Regions from separate parts of the Homo sapiens genome. Here regions 1 and 3 are each linked to region 2. Evidence: promoter capture Hi-C in 16 types of primary human blood cells and fetal thymus (Javierre and others, 2016). All regions are on one chromosome and are shown on one strand. The core of a region is centred on a gene start or on the middle of the fragment in contact, and the rest is flanking DNA. Distances in the headings are between cores, read along the strand shown. Region 1 holds the start of SPRR5 (small proline rich protein 5). Region 2 holds the start of SPRR1A (small proline rich protein 1A). Region 3 holds the start of SPRR2D (small proline rich protein 2D).

Evidence for each region. Contacts are between HindIII fragments. The CHiCAGO score rates a contact against its expected background, and 5 or more counts as called.
Region 1: the fragment with the promoter of SPRR5 here is called in contact with the fragment with the promoter of SPRR1A in region 2 in 1 of 17 cell types (naive CD8 T cells); the score reaches 5.3 in naive CD8 T cells.
Region 3: a contact is called between a fragment that was not itself captured here and the fragment with the promoter of SPRR1A in region 2, in 1 of 17 cell types (naive CD8 T cells). The highest score is 5.0, in naive CD8 T cells.

What each region holds. Positions count from the first base shown.
Region 1 is chr1:152,945,820-152,949,195 of GRCh38, reverse strand. SPRR5 (small proline rich protein 5) reads right to left here and starts at 1,990. Exons shown (of 2, transcript NM_001395435.1): 1 at 1,948-1,990; 2 at 1-659. The coding sequence starts at 641. The coding sequence ends at 315. LINC01527 (long intergenic non-protein coding RNA 1527) reads left to right here. Exons shown (of 2, transcript NR_183723.1): 1 at 1-210. The HindIII fragment of the contact is 11,414 bases long and covers 1-3,376 here.
Region 2 is chr1:152,981,949-152,985,330 of GRCh38, reverse strand. SPRR1A (small proline rich protein 1A) reads right to left here and starts at 1,250. Exons shown (of 2, transcript NM_005987.4): 1 at 1,206-1,250; 2 at 1-119. The coding sequence starts at 100. The HindIII fragment of the contact is 3,855 bases long and covers 267-3,382 here.
Region 3 is chr1:153,039,718-153,043,285 of GRCh38, reverse strand. It overlaps SPRR2D (small proline rich protein 2D), which reads left to right and starts at 2,166. Exons shown (of 2, transcript NM_006945.5): 1 at 2,166-2,208; 2 at 2,921-3,554. The coding sequence starts at 2,940. The coding sequence ends at 3,158. The HindIII fragment of the contact is 725 bases long and covers 1,700-2,424 here.

The DNA of each region.
Region 1 (3,376 bases), core at 741-3,240, 37 kb after region 2:
GAAGATGCCTGTGCATGCCGCTCATGTTTCCAGCAGGGCAATGTAGATGCATGTCAGGAAAGATGATTAGATAGTTTAGAACCAGATCCTTGTCTGAGATGGAAACTGCAGCTGCTAATTAAGAAGAGTAGAGCTCGAGGAAGCCGCCAGCTGCCAGCCTGGTGCTGCCTCTCCTGCAAGTGTGAAGTGTGGCTGCATCCAGAAGCACTGGTGAGCAGGGCTTTGCTTGGCCTGTGGAGTGTAAGATGCTGGCCCAGAAGGAACTTCATGCTCTGTTTTTCCTGGGGGTTCGCCTCTGATCACATGCCCAGGGCTTACTTCTGCTTGGACGTCTGGCACTGCTGAGGGGGTGGGCACTTGGGGGCACAGGGCTCCTGGCACTTGGGTGGGGGCTGGCAAGGCTGCTTGGTCTGTTGGGGTGGGGGGCAGTACTGCTGAGGTGGAGGGCAGCACTGCTGGGGTGGGGGACAGCACTGCTGGGGAGGGGGGCAGCATTGTTGAGGCGGCGGGCAGCACTGCTGGGGTGGGGGGCAGCACTGTTGAGGCGGGGGGCAGCACTGCTGGGGTGGGGGGCAGCGCTGCTGGGGTGGGGGGCAGCACTGCTGCGGGGGAGCACACTGCTTCTGCTTCTGCTGAGACATTCTGGGCTGGACTTGCAACTGGAAACAGAAAGACACAGAAATGAGGAACACTTGAGCCATAGAGAGACCCTAAGCCCAGGTGAACCCCCTGCCACATTCCTGTCCTGCTCTGCTTTTACCTTGCCCTGATCCCTTCACAGATTTAAGAGGAGTGTGTGTGTGTGTGTGCGCGCGCGCATGTGTAAACTTTAAGTGTTTACAAGTTATTTCAACTCTTTTCAAGACAAAGAAACATGGAAGGAAGGAAAGATAGGAAAGGAGGAAGGGAGGGAAAACAGAAATGTTAGGAGGGGTTGAAAAGAAAGAAAAACATAAAAAAAGAAAAGGGAGAGAGAGGAAAAAAAAGAGGAAGAATGAAAGAGCAGACTGTTGTATCCTATTATAGCAAAACCTGTGGCATCTGGAATAAATTGCCTGGGATCTGAGTTCTGGCTAAATCATTTATTAACTATATGATTTTGAGCAACTAAGGTTTTCCATACTTACCTCTCTTAGAGTTGGTGCAAAAATTAAATGAGTATATAAAATACATACTTAAAATATGCATGCATACGTAGGTATGTATGTACCGACACACACATGCAGAGTAGTAGCACAAAATGAACACTATATAAGAGTTGTAATTTGTTAAGTAAATTCATAAACAATTTAAAAGGCGCATCTTAACCACTCTCTAAAGGAGTTTATAAAGAGAAAACTCTAGAGATAGATGAAATGGACTATCTAGCTTGCCTCTCTCAATTACAGTTGAGGAAAGCAAACCTCAGAGGGAAGGAATGGCTTCAAAGCCACTCGGCATAGATGGTGGGAAAAGAGGTCTCCTGATTCCCAGAGCAGAGCCTTCCATGGTGCCACATCGTCTTGTCCCTGCAGCCCTTTGCTCCATGGACATCCACAACTCTGCTGTCCCAAGGGAGTCTGTTCTCTTTCCTTCCTGCCTTCTCTTTTCTTTGAAAGGACAGTCCTTCCAGTTGCTCTGCCCAGAACTGGTCTCTCCTCTCCTACTAATTCCCTCTTAGCACCTGACAAGATGCAACACCCACACCATGCCAGCAGCATCGCTGAGATACTGACCCTCTTGTAGATACCCCCCTCCTTCTCCCTGCTCAGCCCAGCCTCCCACACTACTCTGCTGGATAACTTGCTGGACCCAAGATAGGTTTGTCACAAATGATATGGAAAAAAGAGGTACCCCAAAAGACCCATCCTTTCTGACCACCACCCAGAGAATCAGCCCAGTCCATAGTTGGTTAGGGATGCAGGCAAGGCAAGGCTGCTATAAGAGGTACTACCTTTCCAGACTTACCAAGGTTCACCAGCGACTGGAGCAGATAGGTGTGGAGGGGTTTGGGATGCTCTGAGCCTATCTACCTTTTATATACCTCTCATCCCTGCCTGAGGCCATGAGGTGGCCCAGGATTGGGGTGTCCTAATTAGTCCCTAGTCACAATAGGATCCACCTGTCCTTCCTCAAATTTTAAGTTTTACTCACCCCCAGGGCTGGTATGGCGGGATTTGGAGATGACAGTGCCTTCACCCTCCCCTTGCCTCATCTCCCCATCATTTTACGAGGACTGGCTTCCTTGGATTTCCAAACCCACTCATGACTTTTGACTTAGATCCCTGGCATCTAGGATGGTCCCAAGCAAGCATTCCGACCATGCTGGGTGTGGGGGTGTGAGGGCAGTGTTCTGGGATGTTCTGGTTGGCAGAGAGGAGGGGATGGGACAGGCAGCTTATGCAGGTAACATAAGAAAACAGCTGAGGGGGCAGATGGCTCTCTTGGAAACCCACCACCCTCAGCAAAGTTGTGACTTTGACTTGACCTAGGCTCAGAGTCACATTCAGCTTGAACTGGTGGGAAGACAAGACAAGAGGCTTTCATTTTTTACCTATTGTTATTTATACAAGAAATGGCAGCTGCCACTCTCTGTCTGTTCTGCTATTGGGAAAATCGTTAGGCCCCATTCGGGGAAACTGGTTGGTTACAGTAGATAGTGCTTATCTCTAAATCTCCCTACATATATCACATATCCATATGACTCCAGGGTTCCCAGGGAAATGATTATCATAAGGTGGAGGGGGTGGGGGAAGCTAAGAAGCATTGCATTAGAGTGAGCTCATGGAGGAGTCACAGTGACTGGATTCTGGGTTCTGAGCTCCTGGGGCCCCAGTCCTGGCTCTTCCTCCTAACTTCTGTTAGAAGTTCCAGGACAAAGAAGGGTGGCACGGGATACAGACTTGGATGCTTCCCATACCTGGCAAAGGATGGAGCTCATCTTTAAAAAATTCCCAAGTGGTGCTCAGACTGAGGCTCTGCCTTTTACCAGTTGGGTGACCTTAGGAACCAGATGTTTTTGCACTTCAATTTTCTCACCTGCTAAAGAGGGTAACAGCACCATTCTGCATGTCAGTTGTAAGGATTAAAATGGACAACTTATTTAAAGTATGTGCAAGTGTTTGGCACAAAATGCATGGTCAACAGTCGTTGGGTGCTCCATGGAGATGGGCTTTGAATACTAGGGCAAGACACACTCTTAGAAATATGGAATAGGAAGTTGAAAAAAGTTGGAGGCAAGTAGTGGCACTTGCCACCCAGTGTCATAAGCTCTTGGTTGAAAGAGACAGGAGGAATAAGTTCAAGGAATCCACTGGAAGTCATGTTGACTATAGTTAATAACAATATGTGACATGAAAATTGCTAAATGAGTAGATTTTAAGTGTTTTCGCCACAC
Region 2 (3,382 bases), core at 1-2,500:
TGCATGGTTCCTGGGGTGGAGGCTGGCAAGGTTGTTTCACCTGCTGCTGCTGAGGCTGAGGGGGTGGGGTGCAAGGCTGCTTCTGCTGCTGAGAATTCATGCTTCAAATGTGTTTTTTTCTAGAGACAGAAAGCTGACACAGTGATTCAATTAAAGAAAGATGGATACAAATTCAATGCCAAACAGATTTTATTTCAGGACCCTTTAGAAGAGAAAGCCTTTCATCTCCCTTAACTCCCCCATTACATTTAAAAATGAAATAAGCTTGGATAATTTTCAGGCCCTTTGAAGAGGAGGAGCTAAAAGGCAATTTCTTCTGCTCCATTTTATTGGAGTTCTCTTCTTGGCTCCCTTCCTACCCAAGGCAACTTATATCTGTTCTGGAAAAATGCCCTACTAAAGCTGGCTTCTGAGGGACATGAGGTCCGCATATTAGGTCTTTTGGAAAATGGCATCAGACCACTTTCCTCTCCTAGTACCATGTAGAAAGCCTGTGACTTATAGGATGGCTTTATATTCATCTAAGCCTCTATGGTTTTGCTTCTGGTCTGTGCTTACACAGTCCCTTCCAAATGCTTTTCTTCCCATCTCTGCTTGTCCAAATACCCCTCCATCATAGCTCACATCACTTGACACCCCTAGGAGGGTCTCCTTGAGCAAGGTCTCCCAAAAGTGCACAGCCCTTCTCTGCCCATCTCCGTCATGCCAATTACTATCTACTTTGCATTTCATTTATTTATATATATGTATTACCTTCCTGCTAGGTTTTATGTTTGTTAAGTAAGTACGTTAGGCATTGATTTGTCCAAAGTGCCTAGCATACTGCCTTAAATGGAATAAATGCTCAGTAGAGATCCATCTAATAAATTAAAATTTCTATAAATATCTTGTCAGGGGGAAATTGCAGTGTTACTGAGAGTGCTCTGGGCCTGAGTTCTAGTTCTGCTATGAACTTCCCATGGGCATTTGAACAATCTTCTCCAGGACTCCCAGTTCAATGACTATCTACTGAGGTGGGAGCCCTAACCATCTCTAAGGTCCTTTCAAATCCAGACTGTAATTTAACTTAAAATAAAGATATTCCACTATTCTCTATCTCCCATTGAAACCCTGGATTAACCTGCTTACACATATTTGCCTTTAGCTAATTTCTAATAATGAAAAAGTACACTAGAATTGCCAGTTTGTTGCAATCAGAGACTTACCTGGTATACGGAGCAGAATGGGCTGTGTGGTCCCTTGGGTTTGGTGTGAAGGCAATGGCCAGCTGGCTTTTATAAGATGAATGAGCCCTGCCTCAAGGAAATAGAAGCTCTCGGGCACTCTGTTTTCATTCCTCACCTGTCACACATGACTCACACTACCATCCTCATCACCGGTTGGCTCAGCTTTTTTGATGAACACCACCTGATATTTTTTGGCACTGGCTGGCTGAAAATGATGTCACTGGCCTAATTTTCACTGCCACCCTCATCCTCAGACCCAGGTGCAGGGCTTGCCTTGAGGGAGGGGTGAGCAGCAGGCTTCATGGAGGGTTTCATGAGTTAACCCTGGGGGGACATCTGAGTCCTGTTGAGGCCTTGCCACCTGCTGTCCTTGTCATTGAGATGGTTGTTCCCCGTGTTCTGTGGGACAGGGCACTCTTGCACACATGAATAGGTGGGAAAGGGAGGGGGAGCAGAGGAGCTGAGGTGGGCCCTCCTTGTCTGCCTTGGTGAAGGTGGAAGCTAGAAATAATGAAATGGACTGATTATAGACCCCTTGTCTCAGAGTCCAAGACCCTTCCATCCATTTCCCCCATCTTTTTCCCAATTCCATTAAACTACACACATTCAGAATAATTTACTTATGACTCTCCCACTCTCACCTTCCTCCCCCTGACTGGTTGCTAATCTGGGAAAACCTGCTTTCCTTCACCAACCACACCTTTACCCTTCTCCTACTTCAGGGACTTTCAGGGGCTAATCCTTCTTCTGGGATCACTTTTTCCCTTCACTCCACCCAGACATCTGGCCCTGGCCTTTTCCTCCTTTCTGATCAGGCTAGACTGCCCCCCACCTGAAAACCCAAAAGCCTTTTCTACCTGCCTCCCTGCAGCCCATCCATGGGGTCCTCAATGCTGAATCCTTCTCCACTTTTGCCCACTGCCAGCTCCAGCCCCAATACCTAGAGATCCTGCTGGCTGCAAGGTTTTCCTCCTCCTTCTGGGTCTGTATCTCCTGGGGGCTTTCCGAGGGTCAGAGCTGTTCCTGCTTAAAGCAACGGTGTCCCCACCACAGTGTTTATTTCCTCATTTATTCAACAAATCTCAGTGGGGAGCCTAACATATGCCCATCATGCCTGTCATTCTAGGAGCTCTCTGATGAGGAAGCCCACTTTTCCTCTACAGATCATGAACTCCCCAGGGTAAGAGACAGAGCACAGTTGAGAGCCACTGAGATTATGGATCTCAGAGAGCCTTTAGTTCACACTCCTCAAGGGATGATTGGGGAATCTGAGGCCACCAGAGGTGAAATAACTCACCAAGGTCAAAAAAACAAACCCTAGGAAGAAAAGAATTTTACACAGAAATCCTGTGTTCTCCTTTGTTTTAATTCCTTGTGACTCCCTAATGTCTATGGAGGAAATTAAGCCCAGGCAGAAAATTGATTAGAGGTGGAAAGGGGAGCCCTTCCTGACTGAGAGCTGGGTCACTTGTAGTTCTGGAAAGTTTTAGGAGTGACAGCGTGAGGACACAGAAAGAGCCTTGCCTTGTGGGTAAGCCTTAATCGGTGCTAAGATAAATCCCTTTAAGTAGAAATAAAGATGCTTAATATTTGAGTGGCTCTAAACAGTGGGTGTTTCTAGCTCTGCTAAAGTAAGAAGGGCATGAATTAGAATAGGTGGAAATAAGGTTCAGTTTATCATTACTCAGGGCACCAGGGTCGGAGAAAGGAAGGGAAAAGCCAAAACTAAAATGTCTGCTTCTATCCTGAGTTGCTTTCGCTCTAGGGGAGCTCTCAGAGTGACATCGTGACACAGCTGAGGTGAAGGCACTGGGGGAGGCAGTAGGTGATAAGCCCCTGAGCACCTGCACATGCTTGCCTTCACTCCACGATGGTCAGATTCTGCCCTGCCAAGGAACTTCTCTTTCCTGGGGACACAAGAACAGGGGTTCCCTCAATCTTTCCATAGGCAATTGCCATAAAACTGAGGTCTCTGATTCAGAGCTGCACTCAAAACACAAACTGTTACTAGGTGTGGCCTTTGGAAAATCCAAATCATCCTTAAAACTCAGGTGTTCAGATGGTTCCTCCTCCTCATCTAACCCCTCCTTTACCCAAACACACACCTAAATGTTTGTGGAGCACCTGCTGGCTCCACAGCCAGTGAACCTGAGGCC
Region 3 (3,568 bases), core at 813-3,312, 57 kb before region 2:
GGTGTGTGTGTGTGTGTGTGTGTGTGTGTGTGTGTGTGTGAAGTATGCCTCGCTCTATGTCTCAGGGCCTGGATGTCCTAACTTGGGGAAACTGTGACTATTAGCTGTCCCTCTTCATGTTATGGCCATTCCTCATGTAGCTGGTCTGTGAGGAACTCTGAGTTTCCAGTTCTCCACGTCAACTTGTAAAGTCAGCCTGTCTGAGATGCTGGGGGCACTAGGTCTGCTGCCACTCTGGTGCCTGCACTGCTGTGATAAGCAGCCTGTTTGAGTGGGGTGTCCTAAGAAGGGGAGTCTCAGGTTGTGACCCAAACTGTGTTATCTCACACAGTGATCTCATTTGGCAGCGAATTCTTCAATTTTGCATGGCAGAAATTAGACATTTCTCTATGGATTTATGTTTTAGATGTGATGTGAGGCTCTTGGGGAGTAGTGGGTGATTTATTGAGTAAAGGACTTTTACTTTGGCTGGTGAAGTGCGTGGCATGTGTAATAGTCTATAGGAAGCATTTGGTGAGAACACCATTTGTAATCACCTGGCCTCAGGGTGCTGACATGATGGCTCTATTTCTGTAGTGTCCTGGCCAGTGGTGATCTTGGCTAAAAGCTCTTCCTTACTGACAGGAGCAACAGCTGTTCTGGGAACCTAACCTACTTAACTGAGGGATGTGATGCTGGCTTGATTCAACACTCTGCCCTTCCTGGAGCACAGTTGGTGACTGCTCCAGTGATTTTGAGTCTTTCCTCTTCCTCATTCTCCTTTCTTCTTATTCACTTATAAAACCATGTTCTTGGGAAGCTTCCCGATTAATGGTCCAGATAAGGAAGCAGTAGCAACATCACTTTAAATGTTTAATATACAGTACTTAGAAAGGCTCACTGATTGTAGGAAGCATTTAAAAAAGTTGTGAAAGGACAATCACTAAATGCATTGACAACATATGTGTTAAGTGAACAATATGTACCAAAATGGACAGATGACAGGTATACATTGGGTATGAGTTGATAATCTAGCAGTTTGTGGGACTAGAAGGTTTATGGAAAAGACAAAGGAAGAACATGCAAACAAATTAAAAAACACTGAGAAACATCTAAAACCTGTTTGGAAATAGAGAGGAAGAATACATATTGGATTACCCTTTGTTTGTATTTTCCCCTTGAGTTAAACTTTAAGTGCTCTTACCTTCCTCACTCTGCACACCTACTTCTAATTATTTACATATGATAATGTCTATGCAGCTTGTTCTCTATAGGATGTTCACAGGGAACCATATATGCATGGTTCCATACATAGATTTTGAGTCAATACTTGTAACTTTAGTTTCCTTCTCTCCATTACTTTTTATAAATAAAAAGGCTGTAGTACACATCCTTGATGGCACCAAGTAGCAAACGTGCTGTGGAGACTAGATCTCACTCTCAAATCTGTCCTGGGATGCAAGTGCCTCTACGAATGTGGTGCAGAAGCTACAAATGTGGTGCAGAAGACAGCTTCAAAGAGGAAAGGAATATAGGTAAAAATCTGAGGTTTTATCTGAGAAAAAGGTGGCAAAGAAAATTTCAGTCTTGAACAGGGTCAGCAGATAGCACAATGTGGTCAGCCTGCAAACCCAGAGGTAAGTATTATTGTCCCCTGTTTATAATCCCAGGGAGGAGAGGTGACATGCCTGTTGTCATGGAACTTAGCAAAGAAAAAGCTTAGCTCAGGCCTTTGTTAAGTCTCTCCTTCCTTCTAGCACATTGGCCAACTGTATGAGGAAAGTAGAGGTAGAGTTGGGTTCATGTACAACAATATGGCATTCAGCTAGAGTGGATCAGGACAGGAAGTTTTATGACTCAGGGGAGGTAAGATAGGAAGGGATCATTGTTCCCAATCAAGAAAGAGAGCCCTTGACAACCGGTTAGAGAATCCCTCCAATTATCTCTCTGACGAAAGTCACTGAAACTGAGATCTAAGGCAGGTTCTCTGTGACTCATGAGCACTTAACCCAGTGGGGAGATCCCAGAACAGGATATTTCCTAGTTTGAGAATGCCTCTCATGCCAGATATGGATACATTTGCATTTTACTTTGGACATTGCTGGACCAGCCCAGTTTTAGGCAGTTCCACTTCCCACTGGGTGGGGCAGAACGTCCTATAAAGAGGTTCCCTGCTGCACAACTCTTAAACTCCTGGTACTCTAGCACCGATCTGCTTTGGAGAACCTGGTGAGTGTGAGTCCTTGAGTTCCTCAGTTCTTTGTGACCTGAAATATTGAATTTAATCTGAAAACAGCAAGTTTGGTTGATACAATTCTGTAACCATGGGTTTGATTCTACTTAGTAGATGGAAATTTAGATTTAGAGTACAGTGATATGCTATTTTAGCTTGTTTCTTGTATACAGTTAGGTGTCCATACGGACAGAGAAGTTAATAGGAAAGCTTTGAATTGAAGAAGAAAAAAGAACAAAGTATTTTTTCCCCATGTTTTCCTGGTGTCTTTTTCAAAGGTTTGTGTCTTAACAGGTGCCAAGAGCCTGCAATCCTTCCCAAACAGCCCTTTGTTCTGTGCTCAAGTCAACCCACTGGGACTTTACTACAGATAATGATAAGAGAAATGGCTTGTGAGATTGCTCATGGTATCTGAACTTGTCACTGCCTTTCCTAAAGATGTTATTTTCACAGAAATAACATGCTTGGTTCATTACTACAGAGATATTTTCTTTGGAAAAATTGTATGAGAAAACACAAGATTTCCCAGGGCCAATGAAGCAATTTGCTAAAGTGGAAGGGAGAAACGAAGTAGTCTTGAAAAGGCAGTTAAGAGTTTAAATAATTTCTTGGAGATGGGGAAATAATATTTCATGGTATTACATAAGCATTAGCTTCTCTCTCTGGAGGAGTCCCTTCCCACAAACACTGTTGTATCATTTCTTTCAGATCCTGAGACTCCAGCAGGATGTCTTATCAACAGCAGCAGTGCAAGCAGCCCTGCCAGCCACCTCCTGTGTGCCCCACGCCAAAGTGCCCAGAGCCATGTCCACCCCCGAAGTGCCCTGAGCCCTGCCCATCACCAAAGTGTCCACAGCCCTGCCCACCTCAGCAGTGCCAGCAGAAATATCCTCCTGTGACACCTTCCCCACCCTGCCAGCCAAAGTGTCCACCCAAGAGCAAGTAACAGCTTCAGGATTCATCAGGAGCATGAGAGGATAAGGATAATTGGCTCACCTCGTTCCACAGCTCCACTTGCATCTTCTCACCAAAGCCTTCCATGGATGCACAGGGAGCTTCTTTCTCCTTAACCTGTGGCCTGCCTGTGATGATCTGTGACAGCAAAAGATTCCCTTTCTGAGGCTGCCATACTGCCACTGTCCAGGTGGAGCTAAGAAAAGGAAGTCCTCAGCTGTGCCAGCTCCCAGAGCTTCGGAAGAAAGAGCAGCAGCTCTCTCCCTGGGAACCATCAGACAATTCTGTTGATGTGTTCTGTGTCTGTCTGTCACCTGGTCATGAGCTTCTACCACCTTTGCAATTGTCATTTATCTTTCACTCCCTGAATAAAGTATCTATGCATATATATTTGTGAATGGA